Linked DNA regions of Homo sapiens: region 1 is linked to region 2. Evidence: promoter capture Hi-C in human tissues and cell types (Jung and others, 2019). All regions are on one chromosome and are shown on one strand. Each heading gives the region's core, a stretch centred on a gene start or on the middle of the fragment in contact. The rest is flanking DNA. Distances are from core to core; before and after follow the strand shown.

What was found. The method cuts DNA at HindIII sites, captures the fragments that hold promoters and counts their contacts. A contact is called where the count stands out against the background at its distance.
Region 1: a fragment that was not itself captured here is called in contact with the fragment with the promoter of LCMT2 in region 2 in 2 of the 25 tissues and cell types used here (heart left ventricle and lymphoblastoid cells).

Annotation. Positions count from the first base shown.
Region 1 is chr15:42,834,360-42,838,909 of GRCh38, reverse strand. All of the region lies in intron 4 of TTBK2 (tau tubulin kinase 2), which reads left to right. Among named protein-coding and RNA genes, the nearest start is that of TTBK2, 84 kb to the left of the region's middle. The HindIII fragment of the contact is 5,937 bases long and covers 1-4,550 here.
Region 2 is chr15:43,328,538-43,332,695 of GRCh38, reverse strand. LCMT2 (leucine carboxyl methyltransferase 2) reads left to right here and starts at 2,123. Exons shown (of 1, transcript NM_014793.5): 1 at 2,123-4,158. The coding sequence starts at 2,207. It overlaps MAPDA (N6-Methyl-AMP deaminase), which reads right to left and starts at 2,024. Exons shown (of 13, transcript NM_001324366.2): 1 at 1,837-2,024; 2 at 696-796. RefSeq lists enhancers at 1,983-2,032, 1,265-2,215. The HindIII fragment of the contact is 18,030 bases long and covers 1-4,158 here.

The DNA of each region.
Region 1 (4,550 bases), core at 954-3,453, 490 kb after region 2:
CTTAAGCAGTAGTTGAGATAGAGGAGAAATGCCATTCCTTTTTCTTTTTCTTTTCATCAGTAACATAACTCTGTTCCCTGTATATTTTTTTTTTGAGATGGAGTCTTGGTCTGTCACCCAGGCTGGAGTGTAGTAGTGCAGTCTTGGCTCACTGAAACCTCCGTCTCCCAGGTTCAAGCGATTCTTCTGCCTCAGCCTCCCAAGTAGCTGGGAGTACAGCTGTGCTCCACCATGCCCGGCTAATTTCTGTATTTTTAGTAGAGATGGGATTTCATCATGTTGGCCAGGCTGGCGTTGAACTCCTGACCTCAGGTGGTCTGCCTGCCTTGGCTTCCCAAAGCGTTAGGATTACAGGTGTGAGCCACTGCCCCCAGCCTGTTCCCTGTTCTTTAGATGGTAGTGGAGTTAGGTCGAGGGAGCAGAGGAAAGAAATTCAGAAAAGGAATATTGGAATAATGGCTATAGTGGGGAGAAGAGGGAAACCTTTCTATTTTTTCTGACACTACCTCTGACCCTGAAAACACACACATACACACACACACACACACACACACACCCTGAATTATAGTCACCCTCAAAGTTTAAAAACCATGGTTCATCTTGATCTTGCTGCCTAGATCTAGAATTCTCAGTATTTCTTTTCATCTTAAGCAAACGTTGTTTTGGGCATTTGGTTTCTTTATTTTATTTTATTTTATTTTTTGAGACAGAGTCTCGCTCTATCACCCAGGCTGAGTGCAATGGCGCGATCTCGGCTCACTGCAACCTCCGCCTCCCGGGTTCAAGCGATTCTCCTGCCTCAGCTTCTGGAATAGCTGGGATTACAGGTAGTCGCCACCACGCCTCGCTACTTTTTGTATTTTTAGTAGAGACAGGGTTTCACCATGCTGGCCAGGCTGGCATTAAACTCCTAACCTCAGGCGATCCGCCTGCCTCAGCCTCCCAAAGTGCTGGGATTACAGGTGTGAGCCACCGCGCCCAGCAGGTTTCTTTATTTTCTTTCAAGTTATCTAAATAACAGTGATTCTAGAGACATAGATCCTGGCCTAAATGCTTCCTTTTCTCATCAGGAGGCTTTTCTTGTTTCCCTCAGCCATCCTTCAGATTTCATTTAGATTTAAAGATACTAACGTCTGTAGACTATAATCTTAAGGTCTTTCTGAGTCATGTGATTCACTAACTCTTGAGCCAGCCTAGTTTTATTTCCTTAAGCAGCTATCCCTGAACCTTTTTTTTTTTTTTTTTTTTTTTTGAGACAGAGTCTCACTCTGTCACCGGGCAGGAGTGCAGTGGCACAATCTCGGCTCACTGCAACTTCCACCTCCTGGGTTCAAGTGATTATTGTGCCTCAGTCTCTCAAGTAGTTGGGATTACAGGCACACGCCACCACACTTGGCTAATTTTTATGTTTTTAATTAGAGACTGGGTTTCACCATTTTGCCCAGGCTGGTCTCGAACTCCTGACCTCAAGTGATCCACCTACCTCGGCCTCCCAAAGTGCTGGGATTACAGGCGTAAGCCACCATGCCTGGCCTTTTTTTTTTTTTTTTTTGAGATGGAGTCTCGCTTTGTCACCCAGGCTGGAGTGCAGTGGCGTGATCTCAGCTCACTGCAACCTTCGCCTCCCAGGTTCAAGTGATTCTCCTGCCTCAGCCTCCGGTGTAGCTGGGACTGCAGGTGCGCGCCGCCACACCTGTCTAATTTTTGTATTTTTAGTAGGGACGGTTTCACCATGTTGGCCAGGCTGGTCTTGAACCCCTGACCTAAGGTGATCTGCCCACCTCGGTCTCCCAAAGCCCTGGGATTCTAGACGTAAGCCACCGCGCCCAGCCTCTGAACCTTTTTAGATCATTAATTTGGATCCTGCTTTCTCTCATTTTGGCTAGTAATAATATAACTTTTTGTGTGACATTTTATAGTTTTCATCTGGATTTATCATCTTATTTGATCCTCATTATACCCCCATGGGGAGGAGAGAACAAGTTTTATCCCTCTTTTGTACATGGAGAAGCTGAGTCTCAAGGAGGTTTGTGATTTGTCTGGTACTAGCCTACTTGATGGGTATTAAAGCTTGGTGGAAGCCTGAACCCAGTATTCTTTAGGCAGTAATAAGAGAAAACTGTTTTGTCTCAGGTTACTATTGACTGGAGAATTATATAAAGCAGCTTTTTTTCTTTAGTCTGCAGAGTCTTTCTGAGTCTTAGCATATATTCATTTTCATTCTTGTACTTACCTAAATCTGACTTTCTGTAAATGGGAAGGCTCCTGGTACTGGGAAACCTAAGAGACTGGTGTATATTAGGCAATGATGACCTTTGTGGCCTTTGGCAAGTTCCTATGGATTTGTCTAAGAACTTTTCCATTTGAATTGCATGCTATATTTTTTTCCTGTCACAAGAAAGTTAACCCATTTAAACTCCCATCTGTACAGTTTGTGGCTGACTTGATTTGGGATTAGGCTAAAGCTGGTATAACCGCTAGAGCATATTTTCTCTTATTTGACATATGGAAGATAACTACTGGGTCTCCTCCATGTATTCAGCTTCCCACAGAGAGTCCTAATTTATTCTAAAAACCATAAATTCATTATTCTTAAGATAAACTTGTTCTTTTCCTCCTGCTGATTCAATTACATAATATCTGCCTTAAAAATTTTTAAGGAACAACCTTATCTCTGTTGTAGAAATTCTATTTGCCATTAAAATGTTTTTTAAAATCTTACAGAGCTCAAGCAGTTGTACACATTTTTTTTTTCTGAATTCCCCTTACAAGACCTTAGCCAGGTCTCACCTAGTATTTTGTCACCACTGAAGCTTTATATGAGCATCTTTAGTATAACCAAAGTGTGATATATTGTGATAAGTACATCAACTACAGAGGTGCAAAACATTTTTTCAAGTGCTGTAACCAGTACAACTGTAGGTCTAGATTGCCTAACACCTACTACCTTTTAAAAGCTTTTTATTATGGGAAAAATTAAACATACACAAAGTAGAGAGAATAGTATAATTTACACCCATCTACTCATTACCCAACTTCAACAACTATCAGTATATGGCTAATCTTGTTTCAAGTATTTTCTCTTTCTCCTGTCCCTCCCGAAATTAATAGCTAATCCAAGGCATATTTTATCTATATATACATTTCTAGAAGACAAGAACTCTTTTTTTTCTTAAAGTAACCACAATACCTAATAATAATTCCTTAATAATAACACAAATATCAAACCAATCTTCAGTTTCAATGATCGTCCATCTCTTTAATAAATATTTTTTTTTTTACATTTGGTTTATTTGAATTGAGTTCCAAATAGGGTTCACACATTGCTTATCTCTTAAGCCTCTTTTAATCAATTGGTTCACCCTCTGTCTTTTATTTTCTTGCAATTTTCTTTTCATTGTGTTTATTGTTGTTGATAAAAATGGAGGAATTTGACATGCACACATTACCATATTCTGGATTTTGCTGGTTGTTTCCCTGTGGTTGTCTTTAATATGTATTTCTGTCCCCTGTATTTTCTATAAATTGATGATTATATAAGATTCCAGTTTTACTTTGCAAGGATACTTCAGAGGTGGGTTGTATGCTTCCTCTTGAATCACATCAGGAGGCAGTATCTGGTTGTCTGTCTTTCAGTGAGGTTAAGATTGGTCAGTGAGTTCAGCATTGTCAGTCTGATCCATCCATTTTAAAGTTACCAGTGGTTTTTCTCCTAATGGTTTTATCAACCCATTTGTAATCATCATCCATTATTTTAATGGGGGTTGCAAATACAGTGTTCTATCATTTTATTCTTCTTTTGTTTACTAGAATTCTTCTTCAAAACCACTACATTCACTATTAGGTTATCCTCAAGTATATTTTATATAGGAAAGGCAGGACTACTACTTGATTATTTTATTTATCAGTTTTTAGAATAATGAATTGGTTCCCTAATATAAACACATAATAAATATATAACTATATAATAAATCCATAAATTCATGGATTTAACATGTTTGATGTCTTTCAATTATTGCAGTTTTATTTTTTTGAGACGGAATCTCACTCTGTTGCCCAGTCTGGAGTGCAGTGGCACGATCTTGGCTCCCTGCAACCTCTACCTCCTGGGTTCTAGCGATTCTCCTGCCTCAACCTCCCAAGTAGCTAGGATTACAGGCTCATGCCACCATACCCAGCGAATTTTTTTATTTTTAGTAGAGATGGGGTTTCCCCATGTTGGCCAGGCTAATCTCAAACCCCCAAAGTGCTAGGATTACAGGTACCTGGCCTACGGTTTTTTTAATATTCAAATTGTCTCATCTTTTGCTACAGGGGCTTCTTTCATGTTGGATCTGGATTCATTTTGTTAGGACTAGGCTGCAGCAGTCTTTGATAGCATCCTTATTTTTTGGTGCCACACTGAGTACCAGACTCATTCTGTATATTTCATACTCCAGATCTGGAATCAGCCATTTCTCCGTTAAGCCTTGGCTCCTTTTAATGGGAAATGATGTTTAGAGACCAAATTCTAGATGATGTGGGTGTCTGTTGAAAGTGAGTTGGTCATT
Region 2 (4,158 bases), core at 874-3,373:
CTGTGGTGTCTTAGATAGTTATTTTGTTTAAATCCTCACAACAACCCCTGAGATATTATTATCCCCATTTTATATAAGAATAAACTGAGATTTAAACAATGGCCCCTCCTCCCCCGGCCTAAATCATAAGGCATCGAAATCAGAAATTTTACTCCATTCTCTTTCTTCTTTAATTACTTTTCTTGATCTGGTCTTTGCAAAACAAGTAGTATTTTTGACATAACACCTACATTTTAGGAACCTGTCATTAAATAAATTTGTTTCTATGGTGCTACGTATTTTTCAAAGTCCTTCAACTTTTTTTTTTTTTCTATTTGCCCCTCAATCAACCCTGAGATACCTCACGAAGCAGTACTTAATCTCATTTTAGAGGTGAGGATCCACTGACCCAGCAGGCATAGGTGAGCCCTTCTTCTAATCCCTTCAGAAGCAATTCTCAAACTGCTCAAATGTTCCATCAGATCTGAATGCCTTACACTAAACTGACAACTCTGTCACCAACTTTACAGAGAAAACAGAAGCCATCAGGTGCAAATTCCTTCTTTTTCTCTCTGCCCTACCTCACACCTGAGCTTATGATTATCCATAATCTTTTTTTTACCCCATCAGGAGTCACAGATAAAGGATTCATTCTCCTATCCCCACAACTAATACGTGCCCAGGATCCCATTTCTATCTATTCCAAGTTACTCTACCAGTGAGTTGTCTTCTCATTTTTCTGTTCCTTCAACCTCTCCCTCTCCACTAGCTGGTTTCCCTCACAGGACCAACACGCATGTGCAGTATTTGCTTCCACCTGAAAACAAAACAAAAGACTCTTTTATCCCACAATATTCTTTAGCCACTGCCCTGACCCTTTTTTCCTTCTGAGTTAAGCTCCTCGAAAGTATAATAATTTAGACTGGATACCTCCTTTAACTCACCTCCTATTCACTGAAACATGGATTCTGCCCTTATTGCTCCACAGAAACTGCTCTCCCTAAGGCCATTAATGAGCTTTTAAACACCAAATCTAAATGTCACTTTTCAATTACCGAATCTTTATCCTGATCCAAACCTTTTCTTTCTTATTTCATTTTGTTCCACAAGAAAACATTGGAAAATACGAAACTTTTTCTTGACTCCAGTATCCAAATCTGCTGGACTCCAAAACTCACACTCTTAACCATTATGCAGTACCACCTGTAGTTAACCATAAAGTTATCTGATTTCCTTTTCTATTTCAGCCAGTCAGTCACCAAATCCCAGTGAACAAATGATAAATTTCCTAAATGTCTCTGGAAGTGGTTTCCTATGGATGACTCCCAGACACCCAATTTAGAAACTTTATGATTATTCTGAAGTCTAACCTGGATTTACTCCTTAAAAACAAAGCTCAGAACATATCACAGGGAACAATCACCTCTCTTCAGTGACTCCCCTTTCTGGGGACATATTCAACACTACTTTAAAATCCACAGAATTCTCCAAGGCGGTGTGATGAGAAAGAGAGGCTGAGTGGTTTATTCACCGTCAGTCTAACATAGGGCTGGGAATACAAGGGAATCAACAGTCTACTATCTGTGGGGAAACGTCTTCTTGTTAGGTGTCTATAAATTATTTGTAAAGGTCGGTTTCTTCAGTTTGCACCCTGGCCTTAGTGACTTGTTTTCAAGTTTTAAATGGGGTTCTCTTTTGCAACTGTGAGAGCATTAAATAAATCAGCAACTATTAGCACCCAAGGAAGCTAACTAATCCTTGCCTACTGAAGGTCCGTGGTGCCGACCCTTCTTGGCTCCTACCAGACCCTTCCTTGGCGGTCCAAGGAAGCCAAGTCGTCAGTCCCCACAGACTCACCTCTTAGAGATTTCTCAACTACAAGGACTTAGGCAAGGTTTCCCTTTTGACTGGAAGGCTTGTAGAAACGTGACAACCCGCCTTCCCTAACACTCATGTCACAGCGGTAGCGGACCGTATTCTGGGACAAATGGAACTCACGACATTCCAAAGAAAGGTCAGCCGCAAGCGAACTTAGCACTGGCTACACCCTCCTCAATTCTGGTTGGCGAGATGCGCTCTTCCCGGAAGTGACGCACAAGTGCCGGCGGAAGGGGAAGTCCAGGAGCATGGGTGGTTTTTTTCCCCCTACCGAGGTCCGTGAGGTGTGTGCTAACCAAGGGGCGGCTCACAACCGTGACAGACTGCCATTCCTGAGTCTCTTCTGGCCATGGGCCCCCGGAGCCGTGAGCGTCGGGCAGGCGCGGTACAGAACACCAACGACAGCAGCGCCCTCAGCAAGCGTTCCCTGGCCGCGCGCGGGTACGTGCAGGACCCCTTTGCCGCGTTGCTGGTTCCGGGCGCGGCGCGCCGCGCACCGCTCATTCACCGAGGCTACTACGTCCGCGCACGCGCCGTGAGGCACTGCGTGCGCGCTTTTTTGGAGCAGATTGGCGCGCCCCAGGCCGCGCTTCGCGCGCAGATCTTGTCTCTCGGCGCTGGCTTCGACTCGCTCTATTTTCGCTTAAAAACCGCGGGCCGCCTGGCCCGGGCTGCAGTCTGGGAGGTGGATTTTCCGGACGTGGCGCGGCGCAAAGCAGAAAGGATTGGAGAGACGCCAGAGCTGTGCGCGTTAACCGGGCCTTTCGAGAGGGGGGAGCCCGCGTCCGCGCTGTGCTTTGAGAGCGCAGACTACTGCATCCTGGGTCTGGACTTGCGGCAGCTCCAGCGAGTGGAGGAGGCCCTGGGCGCCGCGGGGCTCGACGCAGCCTCACCCACTCTGCTCCTGGCCGAGGCGGTGCTGACCTACCTCGAGCCGGAGAGTGCCGCGGCCCTCATCGCCTGGGCAGCCCAGCGTTTTCCTAATGCCCTTTTCGTGGTCTATGAGCAGATGAGGCCTCAAGACGCCTTTGGCCAGTTCATGCTGCAACATTTTCGGCAGCTAAACTCCCCCCTGCATGGCCTGGAGCGTTTTCCTGACGTGGAGGCGCAGCGGCGCCGCTTCCTTCAAGCTGGCTGGACCGCCTGCGGTGCCGTGGACATGAATGAATTCTATCACTGCTTTCTTCCCGCAGAAGAACGCCGGCGGGTGGAAAATATTGAACCCTTTGACGAATTTGAGGAGTGGCATCTGAAGTGCGCCCATTATTTCATTCTGGCAGCTTCTAGGGGAGACACCCTCTCCCACACCCTAGTGTTTCCATCCTCAGAGGCATTTCCTCGCGTAAATCCTGCTTCGCCTTCAGGGGTATTCCCTGCCAGCGTAGTCAGTAGCGAGGGCCAGGTCCCAAACCTGAAGAGATATGGCCACGCCTCTGTCTTCTTGAGCCCAGACGTTATTCTCAGTGCAGGAGGATTTGGAGAGCAGGAGGGGCGGCACTGCCGAGTGAGCCAGTTTCACTTGCTCTCAAGAGATTGTGACTCTGAATGGAAAGGCAGCCAAATAGGCAGTTGTGGGACTGGAGTTCAGTGGGATGGACGCCTTTATCACACCATGACAAGACTCTCAGAGAGTCGGGTTCTGGTTCTGGGAGGGAGACTGTCCCCAGTAAGTCCAGCCTTGGGGGTTCTCCAGCTTCATTTTTTTAAGAGTGAGGATAATAACACTGAGGACCTGAAAGTGACAATAACAAAGGCTGGCCGAAAGGATGATTCCACTTTGTGTTGTTGGCGGCATTCAACAACAGAAGTGTCCTGTCAGAATCAGGAATATTTGTTTGTGTATGGGGGTCGAAGCGTGGTGGAACCTGTACTAAGTGACTGGCATTTCCTCCATGTAGGGACAATGGCTTGGGTCAGGATCCCAGTGGAGGGAGAAGTACCTGAAGCCCGGCATTCTCACAGTGCCTGCACTTGGCAAGGGGGAGCCCTTATTGCTGGAGGTCTCGGGGCTTCTGAGGAGCCATTGAACTCTGTGCTCTTTCTGAGACCAATCTCTTGTGGATTCCTCTGGGAGTCAGTAGACATCCAGCCTCCCATTACCCCAAGGTACTCCCACACAGCTCATGTGCTCAATGGAAAGCTGTTACTGGTTGGAGGGATCTGGATTCATTCCTCCTCATTTCCTGGAGTGACTGTGATCAATTTGACTACAGGATTGAGCTCTGAGTATCAGATTGACACAACATATGTGCCATGGCCATTAATGTTACACAACCATACTAGTATCCTTCTTCCTGAAGA